3 separate regions of the Homo sapiens genome follow, and regions 1 and 3 are each linked to region 2. The links are contacts of gene promoters, found by promoter capture Hi-C in blood cells and fetal thymus (Javierre and others, 2016). All regions are on one chromosome and are shown on one strand. The core of a region is centred on a gene start or on the middle of the fragment in contact, and the rest is flanking DNA. Distances in the headings are between cores, read along the strand shown. Region 1 has its middle 10 kb from the start of ZNF175. Region 2 holds the start of CEACAM18 (CEA cell adhesion molecule 18). Region 3 overlaps ZNF175 (zinc finger protein 175).

Region 1 (3,991 bases), core at 465-2,964, 82 kb after region 2:
AGGGATGAAAAATTAAACAGAGGACAATCAGGCAACCTAGAAATGAACAACAGCAGGAAACCACCACCACTTCTAGGCTAGAGGACAGAGGGAAAGGGCAGTGCACCAGAGCCCAGTAATCAGGGGCACCCAGAGGCTGAGTGCTGAGCACTCCGAGTCTGAGTGCTGGAGGCTCAGAGAGGGTGCTGCCACTACCAAAGAGATTGCACAATTCAGAGAGAAGGGAAAAAATAAATGCTGCTGCTTCTCCATTTTCTTCCTGTATTTTAATCTCCAGCATTAGCCTCTCATTATCTGAACCTAGTTGGAAGCTGGCTAATAAAGATGCCTGATAAATGTGGTCTGGCAGAGGAAGTATCTGGAGTACATAGCAATGTAGAGGAGGTGCAAGGAAAGGTTCTGAGAGCAGAGCAGTCATGGACGGTCCATCCAACCATCAACTATCCAGCCAGCCACTCATCCATCCATCCAATCATTCATTCATCCATCCATCCATCCATCCATCCATCCATCCATCCATCCATCCATCTCGCCCAGCAGTACAGTTCAGGAGATAGGATATGAAACTGGACAGAGATTATTTCTGGATGAACCAAGTCAGCAAGTGATTCAAGATGCAGAGAGGTGGGCTTTAGTAAGAGATACAGGGGCTCTGTTCCTCTGGACTTCAATGTCCATCTTCTCACCATGTCCAGAGGAGAGAGATCAGTTCAGTCCACTCTCCCAGCCATGCTTCTCTGGGACCCTCTGATCCTGTGAGAAAATGTAAGAGGAGGTTAGCAGTTAGGGCTGCAGAGAGCTCACCCTGAGGAAGACAGACCAGGCCACTTTTCCTTGGAATTTGGGGGCTCAGAGACTGGGTCATCTGAGCAAGGCACTGCTCACCTAGTGCAGCAGATCCAGGTGAATCCACAGATGAATGTGCAGCTGGTCCCCATGAGGATTCCCCTAATCAGTGTGAAACCCAGGGTCTGTAAAACGCCTTCTTCTATAGAGATAACGGAGTCACCTGAAGGGGAGGAGAGGAATAAAGTGTTTCTCCTAGACCTCATCCCACTCACAGTCCCATCCTAGAATCCAGGTGCCCTGTCCATTCTTCCCACCAATGACTCACTCTGCACAGAGAGGCTAATGGAGACATGCTGGGAGCCCAAAGGGTGCTGAGCTTGGCAGACAAATTCCCCTCCATCACAAGACTCCACTGGGGGCAGCTCCAGGACGGCTGATTCTGACGACTGGGAGAGATTCAGGGCTTGGCCTTCCCAGGTCCAGCTCAGCCTGGCAGGTGGGTTGCTGTCAGTCACATAAACAAAACGCAGGGATTGGTTCTTCAGGACTGACAGGGAGGTGGCATTCTCCAAGGCTACAGGTGCTGGGAATAGAGGGGAGAAGAGAAACTCAGCAAGAGAGATACCAAGAGAGGCACATGCAGGCCTTGGGTTCAGATGTACAGAGGGGTCCCCCTTCCCCTTCATGATGCAGTTTGGTCTCTTCCCCTTCTCCGTTATTCTGTTAGTTTAGATGCAGACTCCGTGAGGTACAGGAATAGAGGAAAGGACTTTGTCCTTGATGAGAATCCCAGTCAAGATCTCCTGGCCACCCCCTAGTTCCCACACCCTCTTTCCTGCTATCTTTACCAACATCTCCAGTTACCCTAAAGTCTAATCATTTATTTATTCAATCTGCAGCCCTTTACTGATCCTTGTTTAAATGAGGTACTACTGAGAGGGTATCAGCTCCTGAGGGTGTCACAGTCTAATGGTTATAAGAGGCCCAGGACTAGATCTTCACTCTGCAATATGACAGGTGATGTGATGGAGTGACTCAGGTGAAGGAGGGTGAGCAACACAATAAGACAGAAAGTCAGGGAGGTCTCCCTGGAGGAGGAGGGGCTTAAGAAGAGTGAGATGGACAAGTGGAAACAGACAGTGGACAATATTGGAGCAGAAGACCATGCTGGGAGAAAGGAAGAGCAGTGCAAAGACAACTATGACTAGAAATGGCCTTGGAGTTTCAGGGAATGGAAATTAATCCTGTAAGGGAAGAGGATAGAAATGTGCATAATCATGTGGAGAACAGGGTGAAAAGAGGAACCTTTGGCAAGATTATATATAAATATAAATGTAAATTAAATATAAACATAAATATAAATATGTGTTTGTGTATATATACACATACATTATGTATACTATGTACATTATATATAATCTCAGAGGCGGGAGAGCCAGAATGATAAACAAAGATTTACAAGCAAAGACTTACAAACTCAACTACATAAAACAAAACTTCCATGGCACATCCAAGCTAAATGAAATCAGGAGAGAATGATGAAATTGACAAACTTTTCTGACCAATGACAAAAATACTGGAAAAGACATTTGCAATTATATTATGGATTAGTGGTTGCATTTCCTAATATAAAAATAACATCCAAATCATGAAGAAAATAAGCACAAGCTAATGACAATAGGAAATTGTATGAACAGACAGTTCATAGCATGGCAGAACACAACAGAACGGACAATGTTAATGTCAATTAAACCTCACCTTCATGCCCAGCTAGAGAAATGCAATTAAAGCTATGGTGCGGTACATTTTTTATCAGTAGTCATGGAAAAATCAAAATCATTGCTAACGTATTTGGTTGTTGAGGTTGGAGTGAGGCAAAAACTAACACATTGCATGGGCTGGGGAGGACGTGGGGATTGCAAAATGGTACAACCACGGGAAAAGCCATGTGGCCACACCTCTCAGAATTGGTAATGCATGTGCCCTTTGATCAAATAATTCAAATTTATACAGACATATTAGCTTCCTTGCAAAATATATGTAAGTATTATTTATTGTAGCAGTGTTTATAAGTAGCAAATGACATATATGCAATGGAATATTTTGTAGTTGTGAAAAAGAATGAAGTTCTTTATTTACTGGCATAAAAAGATCTCCAAAAATTATTAAATTTAAAAAAAATAGGCCAGGCACGGTGGCTCATGCCTGTAATCCTAGCACTTTGGGAGGCCGAGTCGGGTGTAACACCTGAGGTCAGGAGTTCAAGACCAGCCTGGCCAATATGATGAAACCCCATCTCTACTAAAAATACAGAAATTATCCAGGTGTAGTTGCGGGTGCCTGTAATCCCAGCTGCTCGGGAGGCTGAGGCAGGAGAATCACTTGAACCCAGGAGGTGGAGGTTGCAGTGAGCTGAGATAGTGCCATTGGACTCCAGCCTGGGTGTCACAGTGAGACTCCATCTCAAAAAAAAAAAAATAGGGTGCAGAACAGTGTATCAAGGATGTTTTGTGTGTAAAAAAGCATGCTCACATGAAATTTTTATATTTACTTGTAGATGAAGATACACATGCATAAGGCATCTCTGGATGAATGTATCCAAAACAGTTTACAATGGAGGCCTCAGAGGAAGCAAACTAGGAATCTGGAGGGCAGAGGTGAGACAGGTGCATTCTATACATGCCCACTTATATCTTTTCTTTATGAGATCATGTGAATAAATCGCCTGGGAAAAAATCTTAAATTAAAATTGTTGAAAAGTAGAGAGGAGAGGCTGAATGAAGAGGCAGGAAGGCAACATGTGATTCTCAGATTTGGTTCTGTTAGTGTTGGGGAAAGAGCTGAGAAGTTCCAGAAAGCTGCCAGGCCAGGCACAGTGACTCACACTTCTAATCCCATCACTTTGGGAGGCTGAGGCCAGCAGATCGCTTTGAGCTCAGGAGTTTGAGACCAGCCTGGGCAACATGGTGATTCCCTGTCTCTACAAAAAAATACAAAAATTAGCCAAGCATTGGTGGCTCGCACCAGTAGTCCCAGCTACTCAGGAGGCTGAGGTAGGAGAATTGCTTAAGCTTGAGAAGCAGAGGCTGCAGTGAGCCGAGATGGTGCCACTGCACTCCAGCCTGGGAGACAGAGTGAGACCCTGTCTCAAAAAAAAAAAAAAAAAAAGTCATCGGACAAAACAAAACAAAACAAATCCCCC
Region 2 (4,245 bases), core at 1-2,500:
ATCCCTGTTTTTAGAAACAGCCTGACCCTCCAACAACAAAGTGTCAACCTAAATAACAAACAGAGAGAAGCTCTCTAAAAGAAAATGATATGTATTCAGGAATGGGGCATTGCAATGGGAATCTGGGTGCTATAGTAAACTACGTGCATATTCAGGGAGGTAAAAGAACACAAAGGGTTTTCAATGGAAAAATGAGGAGGACCCCATAAATGGTTTGAGATAATTACCCTAGGCTACAAGGATCCCTAATGAGGGTGACGTCAGTCCAAGTTTGGACCGGAGGTTGCTGTCCAAATACTTGTCACAGAAGTATTTTTTTGGTGGAAGGAAGCAATGGCTTTTGTGCAAGACTATGGTTTCTGCAGCGTCTTCTGTGAAAATTTTTGTTGTCAGAGAGCCCTCGCTTCACAGCCTTCCCCACTGTATTTCTCAGGGATTTTTTTGGCTTGTGAGCACTTTCACAAAGGGATCTGGTTATACACACACTGGTTCAGGTCTAGAAGAGCATTCCCTGCAGCCATTCACAATGGTCATGGGAGGAATATTTAGTGACATAGAGAAATAGTCCACTGTTGAGGAGGAAAGCAGCCAGTTGTAAAACAGCCCCAGGCAGTCTAAAAGTTGGGCCCTACACCGGGCACGGTGGCTCACACCTGTAATCTCAGCACTTTGGGAGGCCGAGGTGGGCGGATAACGAGGTCAAGAGATCAAGACCATCCTGGCCAGCATGATGTAACCCCGTCTCTACTAAAAACACAAAAATTAGCTGGGTGTGGTGGCACGAGCCTGTAGTCCCAGCTACTCGGGAGGCTGAGGCAGGTGAATCACTTGGACCCGGAAGACGAGGTTGCGGTGAGCCAAGATCATGCCATTGCACTCCAGCCTGGTGACAGAGCGAGACTCCGTGAAAAAAAAAAAAAAAAAAAAAAAGCTGGGCCCTGCATAGGAAAACCAAACCAAATGGAAACAGGACATACAGTTGAGGAGTTTGATGTCCTATCTTTGAGGCACTTGGCTGTATTTTCTGGTTTTCTTTGTTTTCCCAACAGTGAGCCTGTGTTTTTCCGTTTTTTCATGACCAGAGAAAAAAATGTAAATTATTATAAAAATAAGTAAATAAATAATGAACTAAAGGCAACATAAAGCCATAAAGATAAGGTTGGGCTCTCAAGAGCCGTCTTCCCCAGGCCCCACCCCTGCTGGTCAGAGTGCACCCTGGGGAGGAAAGGCCGCCCTGAAGGCTGGGAGACGAGACCGGCAGCCTCTGTGCCAGGAGACACAGGTCTTGGAGGGAGCAGAGGAGGTGGCTGTGTCTCTGGAGGGACCCCTCCTCCTGGAGGACCCCAGGCAGCTCATGGACCTTTCCAGACCCAGATGGAGCCTGTGGAGGAGGGTCTTCCTCATGGGTAAGAGATGCTGGATGCTGGATGAGCTTCCCAGGACTGAGGGAAGGGCAGCTAGGAGCAAAGCGGCGGGGAGGGGGCTGGGACCATCCCCATCCACGGGCACATCAAGAAACTCCCAGAGCAGGGGTCGGGGAGAGGAGAAGGGGGAGGACCCTCAGCACAACTTTCATGAGCTCACACACGTGGGCACACTTTGCCCCTAGACACACCCCTGCACAGACCCACACATGTGGTGTTACACACACACGCACACGCACATGCACACACACACACGCGCGCACACACAGAGAGAGAGAGAGAGAAACTGTGTTTCTATCTACGCCCAGGAATCAGGAGCTTGGACCTTCACCCTCACCTCCCTGCACTCACCTCCCACTGGGTGCCCCAATCTGCCCCATCCCCTCCCCCACCTCTCAGGCCAGATTCCTTCCCAGCCCCTCACCTTTGCCCAGGACCTTCTGTGCCCCCTACAAGCACAACTGTCCTGCTTTACCACGTGTACTGTCCTTGAACAGGTCCAGTGTGTCCATACGTGAGGCCTAGAGCCGGGGTCTCAGGCATCTCTGCCTCCTCCACATAGCCCAGGCTTGGGGTTCACAGGGCAGTGGACAACTGCCCATGTCATATGTGGTAACAGGCTGCCGCCTCCATTCACACCCACTCCAGTGAATTTAGATGCAAAATCAAAGACATGTAGAAATTCTCGGGGGAGTATTTCTCACCCAGACAATCATTACTGAACTCCCCCTGTGTCCAGCCTGTGCTCAGGGGCGCTGGGGACTCAGTGGTGACTGAGACAGGGCAGTCCTGCCCTCCTGGAGCCCACAGTCCAGGGCGAGATATAGATATGTGCCCAGACTCTGAGGACCCCCAGAGGTCATGGCTGGGATGGGGGGAGCCCAGGAGGAGCTGGGGGAGCCCAGAGGGGACACCTGACCCAGGCTGGGGTGGAGGAGACATCCAAGCTGAGACCTGAGTGATGAATAGAAGTGAGTCAGCAAGGAGGGTGCAGATGGAGAGGAGGGAGAAGGAGTCCCTGCCGGGAATGGGGAACAGCGTGTGCGAAGCCTGGAGTTAGGAGAAGGTGTGGTGCACCAAGAGAGCTATGTAGAGGCCTGGGGCATACAGCGTGGCAGTCATGTCTTCTGATAAATAACTACAGGAATAAATGAGTAAAAGGTGCATAGTGGGGACAGGATGGGGTAGGTGTGCACCACAAGGAGGCTCGATGAGTCACAAACACCAGCTCTGGCTGAGAGTGTTTCATATACCCACCTAAGAGTTTGGACTGTATCCTAAGAGCACTGGGGAGCCATGGAAGGTGTTTGAGCAGAGGAGAACAGGGTCGCAACTTGGGCTTATTAACATTTACGTAACTGTGATGTGAGGATGGATTGGAGGCTGTGTGGCTAGCGAGGAGGGCCTGGGAGAAGATAAGGGTAAAATGGACCACGGCAGGGGCTGAGGGGAGGCACAGGAGGGGACAAGCTGGGGACTCTACCAGGAGCCAGAAACTCTTGCCTGGTTCACCAGCGTCTCTGGGAATCGTTCCCGGATGGTGTCTTTTTTCCTTGTCTTCTCAGCCAGTCTGAATCTCTTTGTGAATTTCTCTCTGTCTTTTTTCCTTGTCTTCTTCAGCCAGTCTGCTGGCCTGTGGGATCTGCCAGGCCTCTGGCCAAATCTTCATCACCCAAACCCTGGGGATCAAGGGATATCGGACTGTCGTGGCCCTGGATAAGGTCCCTGAGGATGTTCAGGAATACAGCTGGTACTGGGGTGCAAACGACAGCGCAGGAAACATGATTATCAGCCACAAACCGCCCAGTGCCCAGCAGCCTGGGCCCATGTACACTGGCAGGGAGAGAGTGAACAGAGAAGGCAGCCTGTTGATCAGGCCGACTGCATTAAATGACACGGGAAACTACACTGTTCGGGTGGTTGCAGGCAATGAGACCCAAAGAGCAACCGGCTGGCTGGAGGTTCTAGGTGGGTTAGCAGGTGCTGTGTTTCCCAACCCCCAAGGAGAGCTAGATGTGACACATTTGAGAGAAGGACATTATACAGAGCATGACACCGGGAGTGGAAATCACGGAGCCGCCCTGGAATCTTGTGTACCATGGACAGCTCCTGGGGGATCTGAGGGCTAGTGGGAGGAGAGGGCGGAGTTGGAAGACAAGCAGTCCTGTATTTGACAGTGGCTGCAAATACATACTGCAGGACCCTGGCCCATTTGTGTTCCTTCTGTGTTCTTCAGTTTCCTCATCTGTAGAGTGGGGAGGAACCCACCATTGTGGTTTGTCGTAGCGTTGGAGGGAGTATTCGTAAAGTGAATGGGACTCAAATAATGGAGTAGTATTGTGTAGCCAAATGCCACCTCTCACTCAGAACCTCTCGTGTCTCCTGGATGAGGGTCCTGGTTTGGAGGATCAGAAACAATGATTAGGCCACATGTTTATGCCAAGAGCTCACCATTATGGCAGCAGACAGCACGGCAGTGGCTCAGGCAAGGCCCACACCTCAGCAGCCTCATTGCCCTGTGCCTATTCCTCTGCCCTTCTCAGCTCCCTTGCCAGGATGCCAGATCTTATCTTACAGCTCTTGGCTTCTCTCCAACATGCCCAGAAGTCCCCTGGAGAGGAGCAGAGCTTGGGGAAGCAGACCCCACTTGTAATTTTTTTCTCTTTCCTGCTTCACCCAGAGTTGGGAAGCAATCTGGGCATCTCCGTCAATGCCAGCTCCCTGGTGGAGAACATGGATTCTGTGGCTGCTGACTGCCTCACAAATGTCACCAACATCACGTGGTATGTGAATGATGTGCCTACCTCTAGTAGTGACCGGA
Region 3 (4,195 bases), core at 1,391-3,890, 110 kb after region 2:
AGCCTGTTTCATTGCTTAAGTGTTATTTTTCTAATAACTGAATGGTGAGAGCCTCTCATCTTATCTGTTATCTGATTGGCTTTTTCATTTGTTTGTTGCATTTTCTTACCGCTTATCTCTTTACGTCCATGGAGTTTTCTGCCTTTTTTTTCCAGTTTTTTTGCCCCTAATTTTATTTATTTTCTTTTCTTTGCTGGATCTGCTGTCTTCTTTTCCTCCCAGTTGTGGCACCTCTAGCTTGGGGCCCTGTTCTTCCATATGGGCATCTTTTCTTTTTTTTGAGGCAGAGTTTCACTCTTGTTGCCCAGGCTGGAGTGCAATGGCACGATCTTGGCTCACCGCAACCTCCGCCTCCCAGGTTTGAGTGATTCTCCTGCCTCAGCCTCCCAAGTAGCTGTGATTACAGGCATGCACCACCATGCCCGGCTAATTTTGTATTTCTAGTAGAGACGGGGTTTCTCCTTGTTGGTCAGGCTGGTCTCGAACTCCCGACCTCAGGTGTTCCGCCTGGCTTGGCCTCCCAAAGTGCTGAGATTACAGGCGTGAGCCACCGTGCCCGGCTATGGGCATCTTTTCCCACAGGAATTGACTTAAAGGACCCATCCATTCTGAACTCTTAGTCCTCATATTTTTATTCTAATGATTTATATATCAGTACCTCTAGTCCCTGTGCTTAAACTGTGTTCTGCTACCTTACTTAGCTCCACGGAGGACAGTTCCCATGAGATGACTCACTTCCTTAATTTTGGGAGATCAGAAATTGGAATCATCATCATCCAAATAAGGAATTCTCACCTGATAAATTTTGTGAGATTTTTCTGTTTCTGGGCTCAGAAACACAGTCCTCTAATTTAATTTATTACTTTGGAATTCTTACCAGTTTTTCTTGTTTTAATTAAGAAAAAAGTGACCCTTTTTCTTAATCCCAGTGGTATTACAACAAACTAGATCCCCATTTTCTCATATTTAGACAATTTTGTTCCCAGTGAGATATGTTGATTTCAGGTTTTTGAGTTTAGTCAAGATACTGACAGATTTTATGACCCCAAACATGGCTATTTTGTTTCTTTTTTCCTCAGTAGATATGATAAAAACAGGCAGTTCTATTTCCTACTGTGTAGGATTAACAAATTCTTTTCAGTGATATTGTCCTCATGGCCACATATTTCCAATTTAAAAATATACCTGAATAGTTTTCATCACTCATGCTCTGCTCCATTGTTTTTGTATGTTGTTTAATGTCTACTCCATAGAATGATTCACTTTGCATACACTCTGCTGATTACTTTGTACTTTCTTAATCTTCATTATATCAATGTTTAGCATGAGGAAACCATTGTATTTAAGATATAGGATTAGGATTTTTGTATTTAGGATACAGAAATTACTGATTTTCTGAAAATGGGCAGAAAAGAATATTTCACAGTATTTTAAAAGGATGCTTTAAATATTTGCTGAGATAAATTCAAAAGAACGGAGATTGTATTTGGATGGAGAGGACAATGGCATTAAATGTTAAAAGTATTAGCCTTTGTGCATCAATCATGTCTATTTCATGGAAGGCTACTCAAAAAGTAAGTGTATCAACATGGGAAGCATGGATAGCAAATGCTGGTGAAGTTCAGAAAAATGATGTCAGCCTAGAGGTGGAGTGACATTGGGAATTAATTTTAAGGGCATAGTACCTATAACTGGTTCAAGAAGCCATTTTGAATTGAAACAAAGAAGCAGATGAAGCAAGCTTAATGGGAATAGAGGACATGAGAGTGTGCTTGGATTTGAGAATAAATTGGACTTCTTTTTTGCAATCGACATTGTTAGGCTGTGTTGGAGAGTTGTGGAAAAGCTTTTCAGTACAGTTCTGATAGTTTACATTGAACATTTTGGGCAGTAATTTAAGTGTTACCAGGTTCAGCAAGATTTTTATGACCTGAATAAAGTGAGAAGTTAAAAATGTTTCAGATCGCTGCCTGGGGACACAGTGGAAGATTGCCAGAATAAATGACCACCTGTATATGGGTAAAATTGCTATTTAAGAGTGAAAAATGAAATAGAAAACAACCTATTTTAATAAGTGGGAAAAGGATGTGAATAGACATGTCTTCAAAGATGATATACAAGTGGCCAATAATAGGAAAAAATGCTCAACTTCACTAATTATGTGGGAAATGCAAATCAAAACCACTGGGTGATATCCCTTTACATCCATTAGAATGGCTACAATTAAAAAAACAGAATAACAAGTGTTGGCAAGGATATAGAGAAACTGGAATCCTTGTGTATTACTAGTGGGAATGTAAAATGGTGTAGTCCTATGGAAAACAGGATGATGATTTCTCAAAAATTAAACATAAAATTACCATATGATCCAGCAACTCCACTTCTGGGTAGATACCCACAAGAATTGAAAGCAAGGACCCAAACAGCTGTTTGTACACTCTTGTTCATAGCAGCACTATTCACAATATCCAAAAAGTGGAATTGTCCATTGACCAATGAATTGGTAAACAAAATGTGGTCTATACATACAATGAAATATTATTCAGCCTTAAAAAGGAAGAGGAATTATGAAACATGTTGCAGTGCGGATGAATCTTATCATGATGCTAAGTGAATAAGCCAGACACAAAAAATCCAAATGTATCATTCTACCTGTATGAGGTACTTTAAGTAGTCAATTCATAGAGACAGAATAAGATTGTGGCTGCCAGAGAATGAGGGATGGGGGAAAAGGGAAATTGTTTAATGGATACAGCATTTCAGTTTTGCAAGATGTAAAAGTTTTGGAGATCCATTGCACAACAGGGTGAATACAGGTAGCACTACTGAACTGTACAATACAAAATGGGCAAGATGGTAAATGTAATATTATGCACTTTTGCTACAATAAGAAAAAGTTAACAATAAAGATTAAAAGTGTCCTTTTTTTAAAAAAAGAATGAAAGATGATTGAGTTTTTTTGATAGGACAAGAGTCTGGGATACAGTTTAAGTGACTGAAAGCGAAAAGAAACTACATGTGATGTTCATACTCAGTATTAAAATCTGGTAGAAAAAGTAATAGTAAAATTTAGTAACTATTATTTTTATTGAGAACCTGCTGTGTTTTGTGCAGTATACTAGTAAAGTGCACAGGATGATCAGGGACTCTTATTCTTGGCAAAAAAACAAAACAAAACAAAAAACTAAACTAAAAAAGGCATATTTGATAGCATAAAGCCAAAAGTTCTAACAAAGAACAATTAATTTCAATGGAACAAGGGTGAAACAAATTCTGGGGAACAGCTTGCTTGTCCAGTCTTTTAGAATATATTTCTGGGGATATGGGTATATTCCTAAGTTCAAGAAAAAAAAATTGTAGCTTCATGGAGAGTTGAGGCATAGGAGAGTTGAGGCATAGTCATTCTTTCACTGGTTGGCCATGTCAAGATAGGTGAAGCTTTAATAGTTTTCAGAAGGATATACAGGGCTGATGGACTTGGCATTGTTTCTAACAAGTAAGATAAAGCAGGCAGATTGGTGAGGATTCATCTCTGAAAGTTAATGAAGACCTACACACTGAGCCCCCTCCTTCAAGCCTTGGCTGCCCACACATGTTGCCCTGCAACACTTGTCTGTTTTATCCTACTCATCCTACTAGATCTGGGTGTCTAGACCACTTGCATAAGTGTCCTCAGGTTGTTGAAATCTAATCCCCACAGATTAGCAAAGTGATCTTGGCCAATTACATAACCATTATGTGCTTCCTTTTCTTTGTAAAACAGGAACACCCATCATCGCTACCTCCTGAGGTTATTATGCAGATTAAATGAGTATGTGTGCACCATGTAGGCCACTGCCTGGCACATGCTAAGTGCTATGTAGATAAATGCTCATCATGTAATAAGGGCTCTGTGTTTCTGCTCATTGTCAGCATCATTAGCAGCATTATTACATGACTCAGCAATTTCCTTGTGTTCTGTGTCAATCAGCTTCATGCAGTTTCTCCTCTTTCTTGTTCATTGTGTCTATTTCATCTTCTCTTTCTCCTTTTAGAAAGGGAGTTTGGGCTTGAAATCCCACAAAAGGAGATTTCTAAGAAAGCTTCATTTCAAAAGGATATGGTAGGTGAGTTCACAAGAGATGGTTCATGGTGTTCCATTTTAGAAGAACTGAGGCTGGATGCTGACCGCACAAAGAAAGATGAGCAAAATCAA

What was found. The method cuts DNA at HindIII sites, captures the fragments that hold promoters and counts their contacts. A CHiCAGO score of 5 or more calls a contact.
Region 1: a contact is called between a fragment that was not itself captured here and the fragment with the promoter of CEACAM18 in region 2, in 3 of 17 cell types (megakaryocytes, erythroblasts and monocytes). The highest score is 6.7, in megakaryocytes.
Region 3: a fragment that was not itself captured here is called in contact with the fragment with the promoter of CEACAM18 in region 2 in 7 of 17 cell types (megakaryocytes, M2 macrophages, erythroblasts and 4 more); the score reaches 11.1 in megakaryocytes.

The regions. Positions count from the first base shown.
Region 1 is chr19:51,559,235-51,563,225 of GRCh38, forward strand. No RefSeq gene overlaps it. Among named protein-coding and RNA genes, the nearest start is that of ZNF175, 10 kb to the right of the region's middle. The HindIII fragment of the contact is 4,287 bases long and covers 1-3,858 here.
Region 2 is chr19:51,477,289-51,481,533 of GRCh38, forward strand. CEACAM18 (CEA cell adhesion molecule 18) reads left to right here and starts at 1,251. Exons shown (of 6, transcript NM_001405061.1): 1 at 1,251-1,406; 2 at 3,045-3,392; 3 at 4,105-4,245. The coding sequence starts at 1,355. The HindIII fragment of the contact is 9,749 bases long and covers 1-4,245 here.
Region 3 is chr19:51,582,593-51,586,787 of GRCh38, forward strand. It overlaps ZNF175 (zinc finger protein 175), which reads left to right. Exons shown (of 5, transcript NM_007147.4): 5 at 4,035-4,195. Among named protein-coding and RNA genes, the nearest start is that of LINC01530, 9.7 kb to the right of the region's middle. The HindIII fragment of the contact is 1,592 bases long and covers 1,845-3,436 here.